Regions from separate parts of the Homo sapiens genome. Here region 1 is linked to region 2. Evidence: promoter capture Hi-C in human tissues and cell types (Jung and others, 2019). All regions are on one chromosome and are shown on one strand. Each heading gives the region's core, a stretch centred on a gene start or on the middle of the fragment in contact. The rest is flanking DNA. Distances are from core to core; before and after follow the strand shown. Region 1 holds the start of SPG7 (SPG7 matrix AAA peptidase subunit, paraplegin). Region 2 holds the start of FANCA (FA complementation group A).

Evidence for each region. Contacts are between HindIII fragments. The study calls those that stand out against the background at their distance.
Region 1: a contact is called between a fragment that was not itself captured here and the fragment with the promoter of FANCA in region 2, in 1 of the 25 tissues and cell types used here (aorta).

The regions. Positions count from the first base shown.
Region 1 is chr16:89,506,986-89,511,166 of GRCh38, reverse strand. It overlaps SPG7 (SPG7 matrix AAA peptidase subunit, paraplegin), which reads right to left and starts at 2,764. Exons shown (of 17, transcript NM_003119.4): 1 at 2,567-2,764; 2 at 575-677. The coding sequence starts at 2,749. LOC101927863 (a long non-coding RNA gene) reads left to right here and starts at 2,847. Exons shown (of 5, transcript NR_188547.1): 1 at 2,847-2,930. RefSeq lists silencers at 2,271-2,390, 2,421-2,980, 3,051-3,260, 3,381-3,450. The HindIII fragment of the contact is 4,518 bases long and covers 1-3,581 here.
Region 2 is chr16:89,815,354-89,819,125 of GRCh38, reverse strand. It overlaps FANCA (FA complementation group A), which reads left to right and starts at 2,479. Exons shown (of 43, transcript NM_000135.4): 1 at 2,479-2,589; 2 at 3,140-3,249. The coding sequence starts at 2,511. RefSeq lists enhancers at 1,816-1,865, 2,251-2,545 and silencers at 2,406-2,695, 2,926-2,975. The HindIII fragment of the contact is 15,845 bases long and covers 1-3,772 here.

The sequences.
Region 1 (4,181 bases), core at 73-2,572, 310 kb after region 2:
GCAGAATTTTTTTTAAAAAAGGACAACTTGGCCAGATGCGGTGGCTCATGCCTGTGATCTCAACACTTTGGGAGGCCAAGGCAGGCTGATCGCTTGAGTCCAGGAGTTTAAGACCAGCCTGGGAAACGTGGCAAAACCCCATCTCCACAAAAAATACCCCCCAAAAATTAGCTAGGCGCTTTGGTGTGTGCCTGGAGTCCTGGCTCTATGGAAGGCTGAGGTGGGAGGATCACTCCAGCCTAAGAGGTCAAGGCTCTGCAACTGGGGGATAAGGGAGTAAAGAGGCCCCTTTGGGCCTGGACAACAAAGTGAGACCTTGTCTCTACAAAAAACAATTAGCCGAGTGTGACGGTACACGCCTGTAGTCCTAGCTACTCCGGAAGCAAAGTGGGGAGGATCCCTTGAGCCCAGGAGTTCTAGGCTGTAGTGAGCTCTGATCACACCATTGTACTGCACTCCAGCCCGTGCAACAGGGCGAGATCCCGTCTCTAAAATAAAAAAAGATCAGCCTCCCAAGTAGCTGAGGCGGTAAGTGTGCAGTCATGCTCAGCTGCTTCTTTAAACAGATACATACCTAAAAGTTGCCAGAGTCTGACTGGATTCTGAACTAAATGTTGTTTCAACAACAATCCGTTGATCCCTTCAAAGGTAGGGGTTAGCAGTCTCAATTGTAAGCTCTGAAAAAAAAAAAAAAACAATACTGGAGGTCACACCAACATTAGAGAGTACCAAAGCAATGCAGACTAAAAATCGTTTTTAAAAGTTCAAATATATAATTATTTGTAATATCTACATTGCCCTGAAATATAAAGTAATAGTCTGAGCAATAGGTCAAAGCTTTAGGTAACATCAAAATGTCAAAAGCAAGTAAACAGGTTAAAACACAGTAATTGGCCAGGCGTGGTGGCTCACGGCTGTAATCCCAACACTTTGGGAGGCTGAGGCGGGTGGATCACATGAAGTCAGGAGTTTGAGACCAGCCTGGCCAACATGGTGAAACCTCATCTCTACTAAAAATACAAAAATTAGCCGGGCGTGGTGGTGCACACCTGTAATCTCAGCTACTCAGGAAGCTGAGGCAGGAGAATCGCTTGAACCCGGGAGGCAGAGGTTGCAGTAAGCCGAGATAGCACCACTGCACTCCAGGCTGGGCAACAAAGGGAAACTCCATCTCAAAAAACAAACAAATAAACAAACAAAAAATCACGATAGTGGCCAGGCACGGTGGCTCATGTCTGTAATCCCAGCACTTTGGGAGGCTGAGGTGGGAGGATTGCTTGGGCCCAGGAGGCAGAGGCTTCAGGGAGCCATGATCAGGCCACTGCACTCCAGCCTGGGCGACACAGCGAGATTGTCACAAAAAAAAAAAAAAAAAAAAAAGAAGAAAACAAAACACAGAAGTACATTGGCTGCTATCCCATGGCCTGAAGCTTCTGCAGGAGAAAGGGAGCAGCCCAGCTCTCCAAAGGCCACAGTGGCTGCCCAGACACGGGGCTCCTGCTGTCACCAGAGAGTGGCTCCTTGTAGAACATTTCCAGGTACCAAACCAGTTAACAAGTATATACTTTCAGAGTTCTCCTTTCAAGATAAACATTTTCCCATTTAAATATGTTTTATGGCCGGGCGCGGTGGCTCACGCCCTGTAATCCCAGCACTTTGGGAGGCCGAGGCAGGCGGATCACAAGGTCAAGAGATGGAGACCATCCTGGCCAACATGGTGAAACCCCGTCTCTACTAAAAATACAAAAATTAGCTGGGTGTGGTGGCGCGCACCCGTAATCCCAGCTACTCAGGAGGCTGAGGCAGGAGAATCGCTTGAACCCGGGAGGCGGAGGTTGCAGTGAGCCAAGACCATTGCACTCCAGCCTGGGCGACAGAGCGAGATCTCTGTCTCAAAAATAACCGAAAAAACAACAACCTAAAAGGTGTGGGCTAAGCTCCTAGGCGAGGGCTAGGAGAAAAAAACATCAGCCCAAAAGCTGAAGGACACAAGGTCTGGTTTTCGGGAGGAGATGCTATCCTATCCTTAGCAGAACCTGAAACAAGGCCGCACTACAGGGGGTGCTCAATGACTGTATCAATAACGTGCCGAGCTACATGACAACAGCAAAATGCAGCTACAGGGTATTTTGCGGACACAGAAACGTTCTGGGCCCCCTACTCGGCAATAACCACCCTAACTGGAAGGCGCTGGAATTCCTGGTGACGGAATCGATCCACAGGCGTGGACTGTAAATTAGTGCTACGCCGGAAACCGTTACTGGATTCCACTTTAAAAGGCGAGGAAGACGGGCGGAGAACATCCACACACAACAGACGGGTTGGGAAAGTCCACGCCGAGGACTGCGCGGATCCCAGCCCTGCCTCTTCCCGGCCCGCCCAGCGCCCACGATCCAGGGCCCCAACAGTCGCTCCGCGCCGAGGTCCACAGCTGGGGGATCCGCGGGCCCACAGGCGCAGGCTCCCCCGCCGCAGGGGCCAGGCGGCCTCCGACCCGCCCCGCCGGGCTGGGCCTTACAGAGCAGAGCCGGGCGGGAGGTGGGGCCCGGACTCCGCGGGGATTTACCTGCAGAGCTCGGCCTCCAGCCTCGGCGAGGTCCCCCGGAGGCCTGCTGGCCATGTACGGCCGCCCCCTCCCGGGCCTGGCGGGGAACCCTGGACTCCAGGCCGGGCCTGGGCCCCACAGCGGCCGAGGACCCGGGCCTGGACCCCGGCGGAGGGCACGGAGCAGCAGCAGCAGCACGGCCATGTTGGCCTGAAAGCCGCGCCTGCGTGATCCGCGGGGCGCTACACGGCGCCTGCGCGGCGGGGTGGGCGGGGTCTGACGTGGCGCCTGCGCGGTCCCCACAGCTGCGCCCCGCCGCGCCCGGGTGCCGCTTGCCGCACCCCCGAGCCTGAGCCCGTCTACCTCGTGGCTGCCTGAGGCCCGGGTATGGGGGCGCGCGTCTGCGAGGAGGTCGCGGGTGCCCTGGTTTTTTTGAAGCCGGCCTTGTATTCCCAGGGCCTGGCGGGTGAATAACCGGCCGGGTCGTGGCTGCGTGGTCGTGCTCCGCCCGCGCCGAGGGGCCTCACGCCCGGGCAGCCTGCGTCACCCGCAGGGTTCGGTCACAGGCGAGGGCGGATGGTGCGGGCCGGAATCCCGCCTGCGAGTAGAGGCCCGCGCTCAGGAGGGCGGCGCCGGAGGCCTCGGGTCGGGAGGGCCCCTTCGGGTGTGAGGAGCGCAGGAAGGGGGCGGTTTTCCTGCGTCTTGAGCCGCCCGAGGACGAGGACTGAAGTTGCAGCCGCCGCAGGGAGGGCAGCCCCGGAGGAGGAGGGTCGTGAGGGAGGGAGCGCGCAGTGCGGCGCGGCCTGGCAGGCGTCTGCAGAGCTCGTCCCGCACACCTCTGACTTCGGAGCGCTCCGTCCTGTGCCTTCGGACTGGCTCACCTCGGAGGCGCTTCGAGCCTCGGTCCTGCCCCGGCCGCTGCGCGAGCCCATCGTAGGAAGCGGGGAGGCGCCGTCTGGAAGCTTAGGAAGAGGCTCTGTTCTCTTCAGGGTCCGCCCTCCGGGCCCGGGCAGGGTCCCTCGTGGGCTCCCAGGCGCGCGGGGTCCTCCGCCACCCCGACCCCTTCCTCCGTCCGCCTTAGGTCTAGAGCTGACGCCAAGAGCTGGAAAGCTTGTTGAGTAGGAAAAGCAAAGACTAGATGGTCTGTCACAGAGGTAGGATGAGGGTGACCTATTTATTTTTATGCTTTTCTGTACTCCGCAAATTCGTAACAGTGAATGCCAGTGACGACAGCCAACATCACCGAGTGCCTAGCTCCGTGTCGAACACCCATGTAATATTCACAACCCTGTGCAGCGAATACAATACCTCTATTTTACATGTAAAGAAAGATTCAGAAGTATTAAAAGTAACCTGCCTAGGATTACAGCTCTGAAGTTAGGGCAGAATTTCAAGGCCGGTCTGGTTTGTTTCTGGACCTGCACTCACTCCACCACTACAGACGAGGTTGCAAAGCCAGTGGGCTGCGTGTAATCCTCCCTCTTCCTCAGCCCCGAGACGCTCAGGAAAGTGTTTTCAGTTATCGTGGTTATCCGCCCTCAGCCCTCCAGTGGGCCGGGTGCCTCGGCAGAGGTGCTCGGGGCTGGGGAGGTGTTCTGTTGGTTTGTGGAGAGGACCTTCCCCTACACCCAGGGCT
Region 2 (3,772 bases), core at 1,230-3,729:
AGGGAGGGGTTTAGGCCTCCGGATGACTGCGTGCAGGCCTGGATAACATCCAGCCTCCCACAAGAAGCTGGTGGAGCAGAGTGTTCCCTGACTCCTCCAAGCAAAGGAGACTCCCTTTCATGGTCTGCTAAGTAACGGGTGCCTTCCCAGACACTGGCGTTACCGCTTGACCAAGGAGCCCTCAAGCGGCCCTTATGCGGGCATGACAGAAGGTTCACCTCTTGCCTTCCACTCACTTCTCACAATGTCCTTTCAGCACCTGACCCTATACCCACCGGTTATTCCTAGGTTATATTAGTAATGCAACAAACAGTAATATTAAAAGCTAATGATTAATGTTTATAATAATTGATAATTGTCCATGATCATCTCCATAATTTGTATTATGACTGTTCTTATTGTAACGATTTTATTATACTGAAATAGTTTGTGCCTTCGGTCTCTTGCCTCGGCACCTGGGTAATTCTCCGCCCACAGGACTACAGGCTCGTGTCACCACACTGGGCAATACAAAAAATACAAAAAAAAAATTTTGTATTTTTTGTAGAGACGAGGTCTTGCCATATTGCCCAGGCTGGAATTCTTACCTTTGTTACTGTATTTAACGTATCTTTTTCCTCCGGCCATCTTCATGGTTTTCTCTCTGATTTCCACAGTTTGAATACACTGCATGTGTCAGGCAGGGGCTCATATTTATCAAGTTTTGTGTGTGCTCTGAGCTCAGGTCTTTCATTATTTTGGGAAAATTATTGGTAATTTTCTCTTCAAACATTTTTTATGATTTGTTCTTTCTTCTTCTTTTGGGAGTCCTATTACATGCATATGATATCATTTGATATTTTCCCACAGTTCTTGGATGCTTTTTTTAAAAAAAAACTTTTTTTCTTCTTTATTTTCCAACGTGGGTAATTCCTATTTTTCTCAGCTGTGTTGATCCTACTGCTGCCCCATCAGAAAAATTACCTGTTATCAGCGTTCTTCCTTTCTTATAATTTGATGAGTTTCCTCCTCATGCATATTGTTCACCTTTCGTACAAGAGACCTCCACATATTAATCACAGTTAATTTAAATTTCCAGCCTGTTTCAATTTCTCGATCACCTCTGAGTCTAGTCCTGTTAATTGCTTAGTGTTATTTTTTGTTTTTGAAACAGGGTCTTGCTCTGTTGCCCAGGCTGGAGTGCAGCGGCGCGATCTCAGGCTGTTCCCTGAGTTCACACCATCCCCCTCAACCAGCAGATTGCAAAGTGTCCGAGTCGGGCCGTGCAGGAGTCTTTGTGGGGGTTTCATGGACTCCGAATTCTCATTTCTGCTCCATCCCCATCTCATGAATCCAAGGCCCCACTCTGTGCCTCGGCTCTTCGTTTGTGGTGCTGAACGTCATCTACGTCATCTACGCCATCTACGTAATCAACACAATAAAGACGCCTGCCGGGAACGCGGCCCTTCGGCTGAATCCCTTCGGTGGTTCCAAGGCCACTGCCAGAGGATGCGGACGGGTCTCCAGGGCCTCTACTTACCCAGGACTTTGAGGCACATTAGCTTCGCCTAGGCACTCGCTTTTACGAATTCTTATGTTTGGTTTTGTTTTGAGACAGAGTCTCGCTCTGCCGCCCAGGCTGGTTAAAAGATAGGGTCTCAGCCGGGTGCGGTGGCTCACGCCTGTAATCCCAGCACTTTGGGAGGCCGAGGCGGGCGGATCACCTGAGGTCCGGAGTTCGAGACTAGCCTGGGCCAACATGGCGAAACGCTGTCTCTACTAAAAATAACAAAAATCATCCAGGCGTGGTGGCGCGCACCTGCAATCCCAGCTACTCGGGAGGCTGAGGCAGGAGAATCACCTGAACCCAGGAGGCAGACGTTGCAGTGAGCCGAGATCGCGCCACTGCACTCCAGCCTGGGCGACAGAGGGAGACTCCGTCTCAAAAAAAGGAAAAAAAAAAAAAAGAAAAGAAACAAAAGTGATGGGGTCTCGCTCTGTTGCCCAGGCTAGTCTGGAATTCCTGGGCTCAAGCGACCCTCCAGCCTCGGCCTCCCAAAGCGCTGGGAATACAGGCGCGGCTACCGCGCGGTCTCCGGCTGCCGAAACACCGCCCTGCGCGCGGACCGTTCGGCCGCCGGGAGGAACAGCGGCTGCCCGGAGCTCAGAGGCGCGCGCGGCTTTGCGCTCCCCGCGGCGCTCTGAGCCTGCCTCGGCTTGGTTGGCCAGGTGGTCTCTTCAGGACCAACCCCAGTCATTCCCGGCAGGAACCACGCTTGAGGGGCGGCAGTCTGCCCGCGCGAGACGCCCCCGCGGACTACACCGCGGCGGCAAAGCCAAACGCAAAAACTACCTCACCGCGCGCAGGCGCCTCCCCCAGGACCAACATGGCCACGACGCAAGGCCTCGACCTGAGGGGCGTGGCCTGGCCGCCGCCAGCCAACGGGTGTGCGCGCCTGGCCGCAGCCAATAGGAAGGCAGCGCGGGCTCGGGCGCAGGGAGCCGCCGCCGGGGCTGTAGGCGCCAAGGCCATGTCCGACTCGTGGGTCCCGAACTCCGCCTCGGGCCAGGACCCAGGGGGCCGCCGGAGGGCCTGGGCCGAGCTGCTGGGTAGGTGGGCGCGGCAGGCCGCGGGAGTGGGCGGCGTCCGGCCCGGGACGGTTTCGCCGGTTCCCCGATCCCTTCCCGCCAGAGCCTCCGCCGGTCGGATCCCCGGACGCCGCGCCCGGGGGGCTGTGCGGGGTGGGCGCCCGGCTGGGGCGGCGCGGCTGCCTCGGACCCGGCCCCTCCTGCGCCTGGGCGGACGCCCCCAGCCGCCGCCCGCGGGGCGCTCCCTTCTTTCCCGAACGCCGCCCCCGCCGGCCGCCCTGTCAGGCGGGCCTGGGGTGCGCGGCCTGGGGCTCCCCTCAGCGCAGAGGCCGCCCCTCGCCAGCCGTCCCCGGGCTCCCCTGCCTCGGGCCCTCCTGGGCCGTCTTCCCCGGCGTCCGCGGTGGGGCCGTCTCCGTTAGTTTCCCGAGACCTGCGCCCTGGGGAGGAGCCCCGGCCCCTCTTCGGGAGGGTGTCGCTGGTGGGTTTCTCCGCGGCGTCCACCTGCGCGTCGGGCCGGGGACCCCGTGTGTGAATTGTGCTGTGATGGTTTCGAACCGACTTCTCTCCGTAGCGGGAAGGGTCAAGAGGGAAAAATATAATCCTGAAAGGGCACAGAAATTAAAGGAATCAGCTGTGCGCCTCCTGCGAAGCCATCAGGACCTGAATGCCCTTTTGCTTGAGGTAAGAGGAAGCTGGTGTCCGTCTGCGGGCAGATTTAGGTTCGGGGTTTTTGAGTCCAGCCACCGCACAGCTTTCCTAAGAAAACACCCGAGGCGGCGGGCGCGGTGGCCTGGCCCGCAGAGGGGAGGGTCGCCTGAGCCCGGGAGTTCTGGACCAACCTGGGCAACGGGGTGAGACCCCGCCTCTTTTATTAAAAACAAAACAACAACAACAAAAAAACAGGCCGGGCGCCGTGGCTCAGGGCTGTAATCCCAGCTTTTGGGGAGGCCAAGGCGGGTGGATCACTCAGGGTCAGGAGTTCGAGACCAGCCTGGCCAACATAGTGAAACCCGGTCTCTACTGAAAATACAAAAATTAGCTGGGTGTGGTGGCGCACGCCTTTAATCCCAGCTACTCGGGAGCCTGAGGCAGGAGAATTGCTTGAACCTGGACCCGGGAGGCAGAAATTGCAGTGAGCCGAGATCACGCCCCTTGCAATCCAGTCTGGATTACAGAGTGAGACTGTCTCACAAAAAAAAAAAAA